Regions from separate parts of the Homo sapiens genome. Here regions 2, 3 and 4 are each linked to region 1. The links are contacts of gene promoters, found by promoter capture Hi-C in blood cells and fetal thymus (Javierre and others, 2016). All regions are on one chromosome and are shown on one strand. Each heading gives the region's core, a stretch centred on a gene start or on the middle of the fragment in contact. The rest is flanking DNA. Distances are from core to core; before and after follow the strand shown. Region 1 holds the start of LAMC1 (laminin subunit gamma 1). Region 2 overlaps NMNAT2 (nicotinamide nucleotide adenylyltransferase 2). Region 3 overlaps NMNAT2 (nicotinamide nucleotide adenylyltransferase 2). Region 4 overlaps LAMC2 (laminin subunit gamma 2).

Evidence for each region. The method cuts DNA at HindIII sites, captures the fragments that hold promoters and counts their contacts. A CHiCAGO score of 5 or more calls a contact.
Region 2: a fragment that was not itself captured here is called in contact with the fragment with the promoter of LAMC1 in region 1 in 1 of 17 cell types (endothelial precursors); the score reaches 14.9 in endothelial precursors.
Region 3: a contact is called between a fragment that was not itself captured here and the fragment with the promoter of LAMC1 in region 1, in 1 of 17 cell types (endothelial precursors). The highest score is 8.6, in endothelial precursors.
Region 4: a fragment that was not itself captured here is called in contact with the fragment with the promoter of LAMC1 in region 1 in 1 of 17 cell types (endothelial precursors); the score reaches 5.5 in endothelial precursors.

What each region holds. Positions count from the first base shown.
Region 1 is chr1:183,022,015-183,024,827 of GRCh38, forward strand. LAMC1 (laminin subunit gamma 1) reads left to right here and starts at 1,406. Exons shown (of 28, transcript NM_002293.4): 1 at 1,406-2,120. The coding sequence starts at 1,703. RefSeq lists enhancers at 103-658, 659-1,213, 1,769-2,322 and silencers at 725-1,114, 1,145-1,534, 1,585-1,654, 1,675-1,814. The HindIII fragment of the contact is 7,676 bases long and covers 1-2,813 here.
Region 2 is chr1:183,272,762-183,275,574 of GRCh38, forward strand. The region is part of intron 8 of NMNAT2 (nicotinamide nucleotide adenylyltransferase 2); the gene reads right to left. Among named protein-coding and RNA genes, the nearest start is that of LAMC2, 88 kb to the left of the region's middle. The HindIII fragment of the contact is 2,568 bases long and covers 142-2,709 here.
Region 3 is chr1:183,255,993-183,258,805 of GRCh38, forward strand. The region is part of intron 10 of NMNAT2 (nicotinamide nucleotide adenylyltransferase 2); the gene reads right to left. It also overlaps a transcript of LAMC2 not described here. Among named protein-coding and RNA genes, the nearest start is that of LAMC2, 71 kb to the left of the region's middle. The HindIII fragment of the contact is 1,321 bases long and covers 676-1,996 here.
Region 4 is chr1:183,239,779-183,242,591 of GRCh38, forward strand. LAMC2 (laminin subunit gamma 2) reads left to right here. Exons shown (of 23, transcript NM_005562.3): 21 at 262-420; 22 at 514-613. Among named protein-coding and RNA genes, the nearest start is that of LAMC2, 55 kb to the left of the region's middle. The HindIII fragment of the contact is 745 bases long and covers 1,024-1,768 here.

The DNA.
Region 1 (2,813 bases), core at 156-2,655:
ATAACTTGCTAAGTAAGCTCAGCCGTGTAACAAGACCCTAGATTCCCCTCCCTTCTTCATCCTACCAGAACATTATCCTTAAGGTTTTCCTAATCAGCAGTCTGCGTCTAACTAACCCTAACTATCCAGAGTCACCTAACATATACTTATTTCCTTGTTTCAGATTCCCATTACGCCTATCTTAATGGGACAACTGGGTCCGAAATTATGCATGTGTTTTTTTGTTTTGTTTTTGCGGTGTACTTATTATCCGCACTTTATCATTAAATTCCTGAAAAGCTAGAACAAAACAAATCCGTGTCATTCACTATGTGCATCCTCTCTGCTTGGGGACGCCAAGGGTTTCAAGCTGCTGCCTCCCTGCCCTGGTCTCTGCTTGCCGTATCCAGCACTGGGTAAGCGCCCAGGTTCTGCTCCGGGACTAAAACTCATGATCTTCTGGCTCAGGTTCTGTGAACTGAGTCATTCTGGCACTGAGAATATTCCGTGACTCAGCAGGCCCGAAAAGGAGGATGTCAGAATCCACATAATTTCGAGTCTTTTAAAGGCAAGCCGAGGAACACAAACAACACAGTGGAAGAATTTCGCAGTGGGTCGTGCGTACCCAAGGGAAAAATTCATTCCATTCCCAGCCTTTTCACTTCCTTCCTTGCCCCGGTAAAACGACTGGTTACACTTTAAATCAGCGGCAGGAAATCGCTTCACGAAACTCATCTGGCTGCTGCGACCAGGCCCTTCTGATTCTCCAGGGACCGTGTCGGCCCCATGAACGCCCCGGGACCTCTGTTCGGGAGGGGCTGGAGCGGGGCCCCGGGCAGCAGCGGGCGCTCCCGGTTCGGACCCACACCTGGCCGGGCGGGGACCCTCTTGCCGCAGCCCAAATTGGCGCGAGGCCCCAGGGACGACCCCGAGCGACCTCCTGACCCGGCATCGCCCCTCTAAGGCGCCCTCCCCCGACTCCTCCCGCAATCCGGAGTCTCCCAGGCCGCGGAGCCCAAGGACCCCAGCGACTCCCGCGCGGGGAGCGGGTCTGCGAGGCCGCCCTTCCCTCCCGGCATGCACCACCCAGCCGCCCTCCCCTCCCCTCCTCTCCTCTCCCCTCCCCTCCTCTCCCCTCCTCTCCCCTCCCCTCCCCCAACCCCCTCCCCCGGCTCCCCGCCCACCTCGCGCGCCCCTCCCCCCGGGTCGCGCGCCGCGGGCCCGAGCGCGAGACGCCGCTGCTCCCGCCCCCGCCGCCTCCTGGAGTCGCCGGGGCGGACGCGCAGTCCATGGGGCGCGGTGGGCCGGGGAGTTGCCCCAGGGGCCGCGGGAGTTGCTGAGAGGAGACAGGGTTGGGCTTTCTCCTCGCCCAGACCCCACCCCACCCTGCCGACCCCACCCCCTGCTCCTTCCTCCCCGGGGGCGCGCACTCGGGCACGCGCTCGGAAGTCGGGGGTCGGCGCGGAGTGCAGGCTGCTCCCGGGGTAGGTGAGGGAAGCGCGGAGGCGGCGCGCGGGGGCAGTGGTCGGCGAGCAGCGCGGTCCTCGCTAGGGGCGCCCACCCGTCAGTCTCTCCGGCGCGAGCCGCCGCCACCGCCCGCGCCGGAGTCAGGCCCCTGGGCCCCCAGGCTCAAGCAGCGAAGCGGCCTCCGGGGGACGCCGCTAGGCGAGAGGAACGCGCCGGTGCCCTTGCCTTCGCCGTGACCCAGCGTGCGGGCGGCGGGATGAGAGGGAGCCATCGGGCCGCGCCGGCCCTGCGGCCCCGGGGGCGGCTCTGGCCCGTGCTGGCCGTGCTGGCGGCGGCCGCCGCGGCGGGCTGTGCCCAGGCAGCCATGGACGAGTGCACGGACGAGGGCGGGCGGCCGCAGCGCTGCATGCCCGAGTTCGTCAACGCCGCCTTCAACGTGACTGTGGTGGCCACCAACACGTGTGGGACTCCGCCCGAGGAATACTGTGTGCAGACCGGGGTGACCGGGGTCACCAAGTCCTGTCACCTGTGCGACGCCGGGCAGCCCCACCTGCAGCACGGGGCAGCCTTCCTGACCGACTACAACAACCAGGCCGACACCACCTGGTGGCAAAGCCAGACCATGCTGGCCGGGGTGCAGTACCCCAGCTCCATCAACCTCACGCTGCACCTGGGTAAGCGGTGACAGCCCCGTCCCCTGCTACTGCTCGCCAGCAGCCCAGCTCCCGGACCGGCTCCGTCCCAGTGGCCGGCCTCACGGGCGCAGACGGCCGCGTGTTTGCTCTCTGTTCCCCGGCATGGGCCACACAGAAACTCCTTTCTCCAACTTCTTAAATAGATACTGCTTTTAACATCCCGTGAGGGCCAGGATGTTCCGCACGAGTCTCTCTGCTTTCCTGTTCTTTCTGACTTAACGGGATTCTGGCTCTCTGATTATTCTGCATTTCGGCTGTTAGGATTGTGATTTCCCCCTTTTTTTTCTGAAGCGTTAATCAGAAACTCCCATCCCCACTTTTCTCTTTGCTAGCAAGGTCATCACAGCGCATTCTTGGATCGGAAACAAGAAGGTCCGCCTTAAACACTTTCGCCTTTAAAATGTTTAGATGTCCTTCCAGGGCTGAGGGTGATTGCTCTGTTGAGTTAAGGGGGAATTTGAGGGGAGCAAATGCCTTCGCTGCCTATATTGCCTATGTGTAATTAAAACATAAATTCACTTTTGAAGTTATTGTTCTTTATAGCTGCTCAGCCTTAATTAAGAACCACAAAGCGATTTGACTGCTAATCCTGGTGCAGAATGAACAAAAGGAAGTGCACTCACTGTAATTGCTGGGCATAGCCTTGTCCCTGGGTAAAAAGGCTCTCCTTTA
Region 2 (2,813 bases), core at 176-2,675, 250 kb after region 1:
GGCTGCTCCACAGCCCCTTCAGGCTTTCTCCCCAGACCCATTTGAACCAGTGGCATCCCTCCTGCCTTGTTTCTGAAGATATTTGGAGAAGATATGAGAGGCTGGAGTGCGGGGCCGGGGCCTAGGACATTTCCTAGAAAAAGCTTTGATCTCCCTCCTGCCCTTCTGTCCCCAGTCATGGGCAGTGTTAAATCAAGTTTAGCCTAAAGCTGCCTCCCTGCATATTTTAAGTTCGGCCTAAAGATTTCTCTGTGTACATGGTGAACTATAACAAGTGGAGGTGTAAACAGGCTTTAGCTTACATTTGTGCCAATTACCAAGTTTTGGCCAATCAATGTAGCCAGCTGTTCGAACTGTGTTCAAATAAGACTGTTTCTGTACTTCACTTCCATTTTCTGTACATCACCTTCCTTTTTCTGTCCATAAAACTTCTACCACATGGCTGCGCTGGAGTCTGAGAGCCTACTCTGGCATGGGATGCCGCCTGATTCGTGAATTGTTCATTGCTCAATTAAACTCTTTTAAATGTAATTCAGCTGAAGTTATTCTTTTAACAGCAGATTTCAGGGTTTTGGCCTCATGGTCTCCAAGCAAAGTCTGTGGTCAACAAGTATCACTCGGGGCACCCGATAATAAAGAGAAATGTGCTCTGAGAAAGGGATGAATGAATGGGCAAACGAATGAAACCTGAAACAGAAGCAGGTCTCACATATCTCGCTTCCAGGAGTCTCATGGTTAGGAACTGAAATTCCTAAAATGGGCGTTTCCAGGCAAACCCCAGATGGTAGAACTTGCTAGTACAATAAGCAGGGCTCATTCTGTATCCACTCCTGAAAGATGTTCCTTTTCCAGACCTTGAGATCCAACCTTCCCCAAATAAGAGCAGTGGACTAATTCACTGAGGTGCTAAGTAATTTTGTGCTGCCTACACCCTCCTCTGCCAGCTCTATTTTTCTTTCTTTCTCTTTCTTTCTTTCTTTTTCTCTCTTTTTTCCCTCCCTTCCTTCCTTCCTCTTTCTTTCTTTCTTCCTCTCTCTCTTTCTCTCTTTCTTTCCTTTCTTTTCCCTCCCTCCCTCCCTCCCTTCCTTCCTTCCTTCCTTCCTTCCTTCCTTCCTTCCTTCCTTCCTTCCTTCCTTCCCTTCCTCCCTCCCTCCCTTCTTTCTTGCTTTTTTGCTTTTTGGAGTCTTGTCACTCAGGCTAGAGTGCAGTGGCACAATCTTGGCTCACTGCAACCTCTATCTCCTGGGTTCATGCAATTCCCCTGCCTCAGCCACCGGAGTAGCTGGGATTACAGGCATGCACCACCACGCCTGGGTGATTTTTGTACTTTTAGTAGAGATGGGGTTTTACCATGTTGGCCAGGCTTGTCTCAAACTCCTGACCTCAAGTGATCCACCCACTTCAGACTCCCAAAGCACTGGGATTACAGGTGTGAGCCACTGCGCCTGGCTGGCCAGCTCTATTTCTAGCAGACAGCCAGATCTTTTACAGGAGGAATTTGCAGGACAAAACCAGAATGCTCTGAAGTCAATAACTTTATTTATTTATTTGTTATTTATTTATTTATTTAGACAGAATCTTGCTCTGTCACCCAGGCTGGAGTGCAATGGCACGATCTCTGCTCACTGCAATCTCTGCCTCCCGGGTTCAAGCGATTCTCCTGTCTTAGCCTCCCAAGTAGCTGGGATTACAGGTGCCCGCCACCATGCCCGGCTAATTTTTTGTATTTTTAGTAGAGATGGGGTTTCACCATGTTGCCCAGGGTGGTCTCGAACTCTTGACCTCAGGTGATCCACCTGCCTCAGCCTCCCAAAGTGCTGGGATTACAGGCGTGAGTCACCACGCCTGGCCTGAAGTCAATGCCTTTAAACTCATTGAAGAAATTTTGAACCTAGTGCAGTGGCTCAGGTTTGTAATCCTAGCACTTTGGGAGGCGGAGGTGGGAGGATCATTTGGGCTCAGGAGTTCGAGACCAGCCTGGGCAACATAGTGAGACCTTGTCTCTAAAAAAAAAAAAAAGAAAAAAAAGACATTTCATTAGATGTCCTGAAGCGGGGAGAGAAAATAGGGAAGATGACTTGGGGATAGAAAGAACAAAGAACAGGTTCTGCTGCCCTCCCACCAACTTTCCCTACAATAGGAAGATGCTAGAGGTCTGTGGAGCCCACTCCTCCTCTCTCCTGGGCAGCACACTAGGGGCAAAACCTCAGAGGAGAACGGGCCTGGTGATCACAATGGGGCCCAGCACGAGGCCTCCAGACTCAGCCAGGAGTTCCTGCCCCAGGTGGGTGTGGAGCAGGGCACCTTTGACTTCAAGGGACCACAAAGGCTTGGACAGGGAAGATGTCTGTGGTGACCATGGTGAACTGAGATTGAAGTCCTGTCCTCATGTTCGGGGTGTGCAAGAGCCTTTCAGGTCTGCTAATTAATAATGGCTGAGACTAAAATTACCCTGTGGGATAGGGATTTGGAGTGGAATGTTAATTTGATTTAAATACATTAACATGATATTTCCGGCACACCTCTGTCATAGACTGAGATTCACACTCATTATGTGAGGAAACAGCTTCTTGAAATTTTTCCCTGTCTCAGACTCAATGATTCTAAGGACCTCGCAGATCAGCTGTGGGTTGAGGCAGGGGACTGAGCAGTTGGCTGGCAGGGTGGGGAAGCAGGTCTGCTCCAGGCTCTAGAAAGCCCTCTGAAGCAAGCTTGGGAGTCTGCTTCACCCAAATCCTTCTGCTGCCTCTGCAGGGGACTGGATTTCTCACCACCCTGGGCAAACTAGATGTGGGGTCCCTGCTGGCCTGGGA
Region 3 (2,813 bases), core at 86-2,585, 230 kb after region 1:
ACTTTGCTGAATGGAAGTGGGAATAGTGGGCATTCTTGCTTTATATCAGGTCTTAGAGGAAAAGCTTTCATTTTCTCCCCATTGATTATAATGTTAGCTGTGGGTTTTTTAAAAAAAATAAAATAAATTGCCTTGCCGGGAGTGGTGGCTCACGCGTGTAATCCCAGCACTTTGGGAGGCTGAGGCAGGCAGATCACGAGGTCAGGCGTTCGAGCCCAGTCTGGCCAACATAGCGAAACCCTGTCTCTACCAAAAATACACAAAAAATTAGCTGGGCATGGTAGTGTGTGCCTGTAATCCCAGCTACTTAGGAGGCTGAGGCAGGAGAATCACGTGAACCCAGGAGGCGGAGGTTGCAGTGAGCAGAGATTGTGCCACTGCACTCCAGCCTGGGTGACAGAACCAGACTCCATCTCAAAAAAAATAATAAAAAAATTAAAAAATTTAAAAAATGGCCTTCGTTATGTTGAGAAACTTTCCTTCTATATTTAAACTGTTAAGAATCTTTATCAAGAAAGGATGTTGAACTTTGTCCAATGCTTTATCTGCATCAATTGATATGGTCATGTGGTTTTATCTTTCAGTCTATTTATGTGATGTATCACACTGACTGATTTGCATATGTTAAACCAGCCTTGTGTGCCAGGGATAAATCCTACTTGATCATCATGTATAAGCTTCATGTTGTGTTGTTGAATTCAATTTGCTAATGTTTTATTGAGGACTTTTACATCAATGCTCATCAGAAATATTGGCCTACAGTTTTCTTTTCTTGTGGTGTCTTTTTTTTTCTGTTGCCCAGGCTGGAGTGCAGCAGCGCATGATCTCAGTTCACTGCAACCTCTGCCTTCTGGGTTCAAGTGATTCTTCTGCCTCAGCCTCCCAAGTAGCTGGGATTACAGTCACGTGCCACCATGCCTGGATAATTTTTGTATTTTTAGTAGAGATGGGGTTTAACCATATTAGCCAGACTCATCTTGAACTCCTGACCTCAAGTGATCGATCTGCCTTGGCCTCCCAAAGTGCTAGGATTACAGGCATGAGCCACTGTGCCTGGCCTCTTTGGTGTCTTTATCTGGCTTAGGTATCAAAGGCGATGCTGGCCTCGTAGAATGTGCTAGGAGGTATTCCTTCCAGCTGTATTTCTTTGAAGAGTTTAAAATGTATAGGCCAGGCGTAGTGGTTCATGCCTGTAATACCAGCACTTTGGGAGGCCGAGGTGGGTGGATCACAAGCTCAGGAGTTCAAGACCAGCCTGGCCAACATAGTAAAACCCTGTCTCTACCAAAAATACAAAAATTAGCTGGGTGTGGTGGCAGGCACCTGTAATCCCAGCTACTTGGGAGGCTGAGGCAGGAGAATCACTTGAACCCGGGACGCGGAGGTTGCAGTGAGCCAAGATCACGCTATTGCACTCCAGCCTGGGCGACAGAGTGAGACTCTGTCTAAAAAAAGAAGTATTGGTATTAATTATTCTTTGAAAATTTGGTAGAATTCAGCTCTGAAGTCATCTGGTCCTGGGCTTTTCTTTGTTGGGAAGTTTTTAATTACTACTTCAATCTATTTGTTATTGGTCTGTTCAGGCTATTCCTGATTCAATCTTGCCAGATTATCTTTTTAAAGGAATTTATCCCTGCCCTCTAGGTTACCAAATTTGTTTGCATATAATTGTTCATAATAATTCCTTATGATCCATCTTATTTCTGAGACATCTGTTATAATGTCTACACTTTCATTTCTGATTTTATATATTTGAGTCTTTTTTTCAGTCTAGATAAAGGTTTGTCAATTTTGTTTTTTTTTTTCAAAAAACCAACTCTTCATTTTATTAATTTTTTCTATGGTTTTTCTATTCTCTATTTAGTTTTGCTCTAATCTTTATTATTTCCTTCCTTTGGGTTTAGTTTGTTCTTCTTTTTCTAGTTCCTTAAGGCATAATGCTAGGCAATTTATTTGGGGTCTTTCTTCTGTTTTAATGGGAGCAATTATTGTTAGAAGCTTTCCTCTTAGAACTATCCTTAGTTTATCCTTTTGGGTTCCTCTGCATGCTGGCCTCAAGAGTATGAATTCTCTTCCAGGGATTTTTGGGATTCACTGCATCTTTTCCTTCCTACAGGAGCCCATGGAGGAGAGGCACCAACAGGTATAAAGGACTCCAGTGACACATTTTGGCTTCTGCACAGTTTTTTTCCAGCCTTGGTCTGCCTACTTCCTGTTCTCTCCTAACACAATAGTCTAGGTGTCAGACCCAAACGAACTATTTGTAAAAATTCATATACGCCTCCACATACGTAGATTCTAAAAGGCATCTGAGCCCTGCCTGTGAGATCTCACTGGAGACCAGCTCACTGCCTTTCAATGCATGCACTGCCCTTGAAACCACCTTTGCAAAATTATGACTGAGGCAGTGAAAGAGATCTAACTTAACCGACTCCATCTTGCTTCTAACCTCCAAGCTGTCCTTGTTCCTGGTGTAGGCTGAACTAACTTCAGGAGAAACTTAGTTTATAGTTTATAGTTTGGGAGAAACTTAGTTTATAGTTTAAAAAAGAGGACAACAGCCCTTTCCCAAAGCAGACCTCCTTCTTGCCTAGGGACTAGATTGACTTTGTAGGACTAACATTAGCCACAAGGTTAGAAATTACGGTTTAGGAGTCATGCAGCTGAAGGCTACAAGATCTGACCCTCCCTAAACTGCTCCTAAGATCAGTGTTTGCAATATTTTGTAGACCCTGCACTTGATGGACCAGCTGGCACCACCCAGATCAATAAACTGGCTTATTTGAATTTGCGGCCCCCCACCCAGGAACTGA
Region 4 (2,813 bases), core at 146-2,645, 220 kb after region 1:
CTGTTCAACATTTGGTGAGCATTGAACTGAGAGAGAAGCACTGTCTGGCCGCTGACCTTCCTAGTCATACCCCCAGATTAGCTTGTTTGAGGCAGAGCTTGGCAAAGTACCCCTGTCCCTAAGTCTGATTCTCTCATTATTCATCTAATTTACTCCATCAGGGCCCGGCTGCCGCTGTATTTTTTCTATGGTTGTCTTTGGGATGTTTTTGTGCCTCACCCCTATCTCTCCTTCCGTCCCTGGCTCCTTTTCTTCTCTCAGGAGATTGGGAGTCTGAACTTGGAAGCCAATGTGACAGCAGATGGAGCCTTGGCCATGGAAAAGGGACTGGCCTCTCTGAAGAGTGAGATGAGGGAAGTGGAAGGAGAGCTGGAAAGGAAGGAGCTGGAGTTTGACACGAATATGGATGCAGTACAGATGGTGAGTTCCTGTTGCTTTCCACGGGAGATCCCTTTCAACTTGCCAAAATGGAAAATACCTTTTCAAGGCTGGTTTGTGCTTATTTGTCCTCAGGTGATTACAGAAGCCCAGAAGGTTGATACCAGAGCCAAGAACGCTGGGGTTACAATCCAAGACACACTCAACACATTAGACGGCCTCCTGCATCTGATGGGTATGTGAACCCACAACCCACAACCTTCCAGCTCCATGCTCCAGGGCTTTGCTCCAGAACACTCACTATACCTAGCCCCAGCAAAGGGGAGTCTCAGCTTTCCTTAAGGATATCAGTAAATGTGCTTTGTTTCCAGGCCCAGATAACTTTCGGCAGGTTCCCTTACATTTACTGGACCCTGTTTTACCGTTGCTAAGATGGGTCACTGAACACCTATTGCACTTGGGGGTAAAGGTCTGTGGGCCAAAGAACAGGTGTATATAAGCAACTTCACAGAACACGAGACAGCTTGGGAATCCTGCTAAAGAGTCTGGCCTGGACCCTGAGAAGCCAGTGGACAGTTTTAAGCAGAGGAATAACATCACCACTGTATATTTCAGAAAGATCACTAGGGCAGCCGAGTGGAGGAAAGCTTGAAGAGGGGGTTAGAGAGAAGGCAGGTTGAGACTACTTAAGATATTGTTGAAATAATTGAAGAGAGAAATGACAGGAGCCTGCTCTAAGGCAGTAGAATGGTGGCTGGGAAGATGTGAAGGAAGATTTTCCCAGTCTGTGAAGTCAAGAATCACTTGCCGGCCGGGTGTGGTGGCTCACGCCTGTAATTCTAGCACTTTGGGAGACTGAAGCGGGTGGATCACCCGAGGTCAGGAGTTGAAGACCAGCCTGGCCAACATGGTGAAACCCTGTCTCTACTAAAAGTACAAAAATTAGCTGGATGTGGTGGTGGGCGCCTGTAATTCCAGCTACTCAGGAGTCTGAGGCAGGAGAATCGCTTGAACCCAGGAGGCGGAGGTTACAGTGAGCCAAGATTGCACCACTGCTCTCCAGCCTGGGGAACAGAGCAAGACTGTCTCAAAAAAAAAAAAAAAAGGAAAAATAAAAAAGAATCACTTGCCGATTTTACATTTGTTCCTCCCCAAACCAAAGTTATACCTTGATGTAACCAGTGGGAGGAACTTGAGCTGCTTGGGTAAATAACCCAGAAGAAATGTGATGAGAGTAGGCCTGTGAGATAATTTTAGGAAGATCTGATGGCACAGCGTGGAAGAAAATCAGGTTTCCCTACAGAATCGCTCCCAAAAGAAAACTTATTTTGGTTAAATTTCTGGATTTAGGTAGAGCTGATATCAAACCCTCATTTGGTCTGTTTTATCAAGCTTGGACTGCAGCAGATGTGGAACTAGAGATTCGTCACAGATTCCAGTAACATTTAGGAAAATGTTTGGCTCTGCTATTCCAGTTCAGTAGAACAACTTCGAAACTGGATTTTTCTGTAGGGTGTCATCATCACCCTGAGATGCCAATGTCATCTGTGTTGTTATAGTCTTGGGTCTGCTTTGTGATCCAATGAGCCCAAAAGAGTAAAATGCCCTCAAAGGATTGAGAAAAAAAAAAGGAAAAAACAAAACAAAGGAAAACAAAACCTTCCCAATTGAGACTTTAGCAGCGTTGTTTAGTGTTCTAAAAAAAAAAGAAAGGCAATGAAACTAATGAGACCTGTAAAGAGAATATGAGAGAGTAGGGAGAGCAGGGTAGATGGAAGCTATTAAACATTTACTATGTGTCAGATGTTTTCATGGTGTAATATCATTTGTCTTGTAAAAGTCCTCTGTGGTGGGTTTTATCATTTTTATTATTTTATTTCATGAAGGACTGAACTGAGGCTCAGAGGTTAATAATGCCCCACAGGTCATGTAGTAAATTGTAGAGGCAGGATCCAAACTGATATCTTTTTGCCTCCAATGCTCGTGTTCTTTTCTAGTAACTCATGCCACCTTCCCATAGACAAGGTTATTTTGTTCCCAAGCTTACTTAACTTCCTCTGCATGTCGTAAAATCCTAAATTCCTAAATTCTCCCTGACCCCAAGTGAAAGATCCATTTGGATCAACATTTTTGTTACAGTGTTGTTTCTACTCTGTGTGCTCTCTTAAGTCCTGGAGCAATATGAGATTAATTGTTCTAGGTATAATAAACTCATGCAGTCAAATACTATCACTTCAGCTCACATATGTGAGGCAACTTGACCTTGAGTTCGAATTGACCAAGGCCACTCAAACCTATTTGAACTAAATGGGTCTGGCCAGGTACCCTTCATACTGACATTAGTTTTAGATAGTCTAAGGGTAACACATGCTTGAACAAACGTGATTTTATTTTAAATTGGAAATAAAATAACATCTAGTCAGATGACTGCTGTT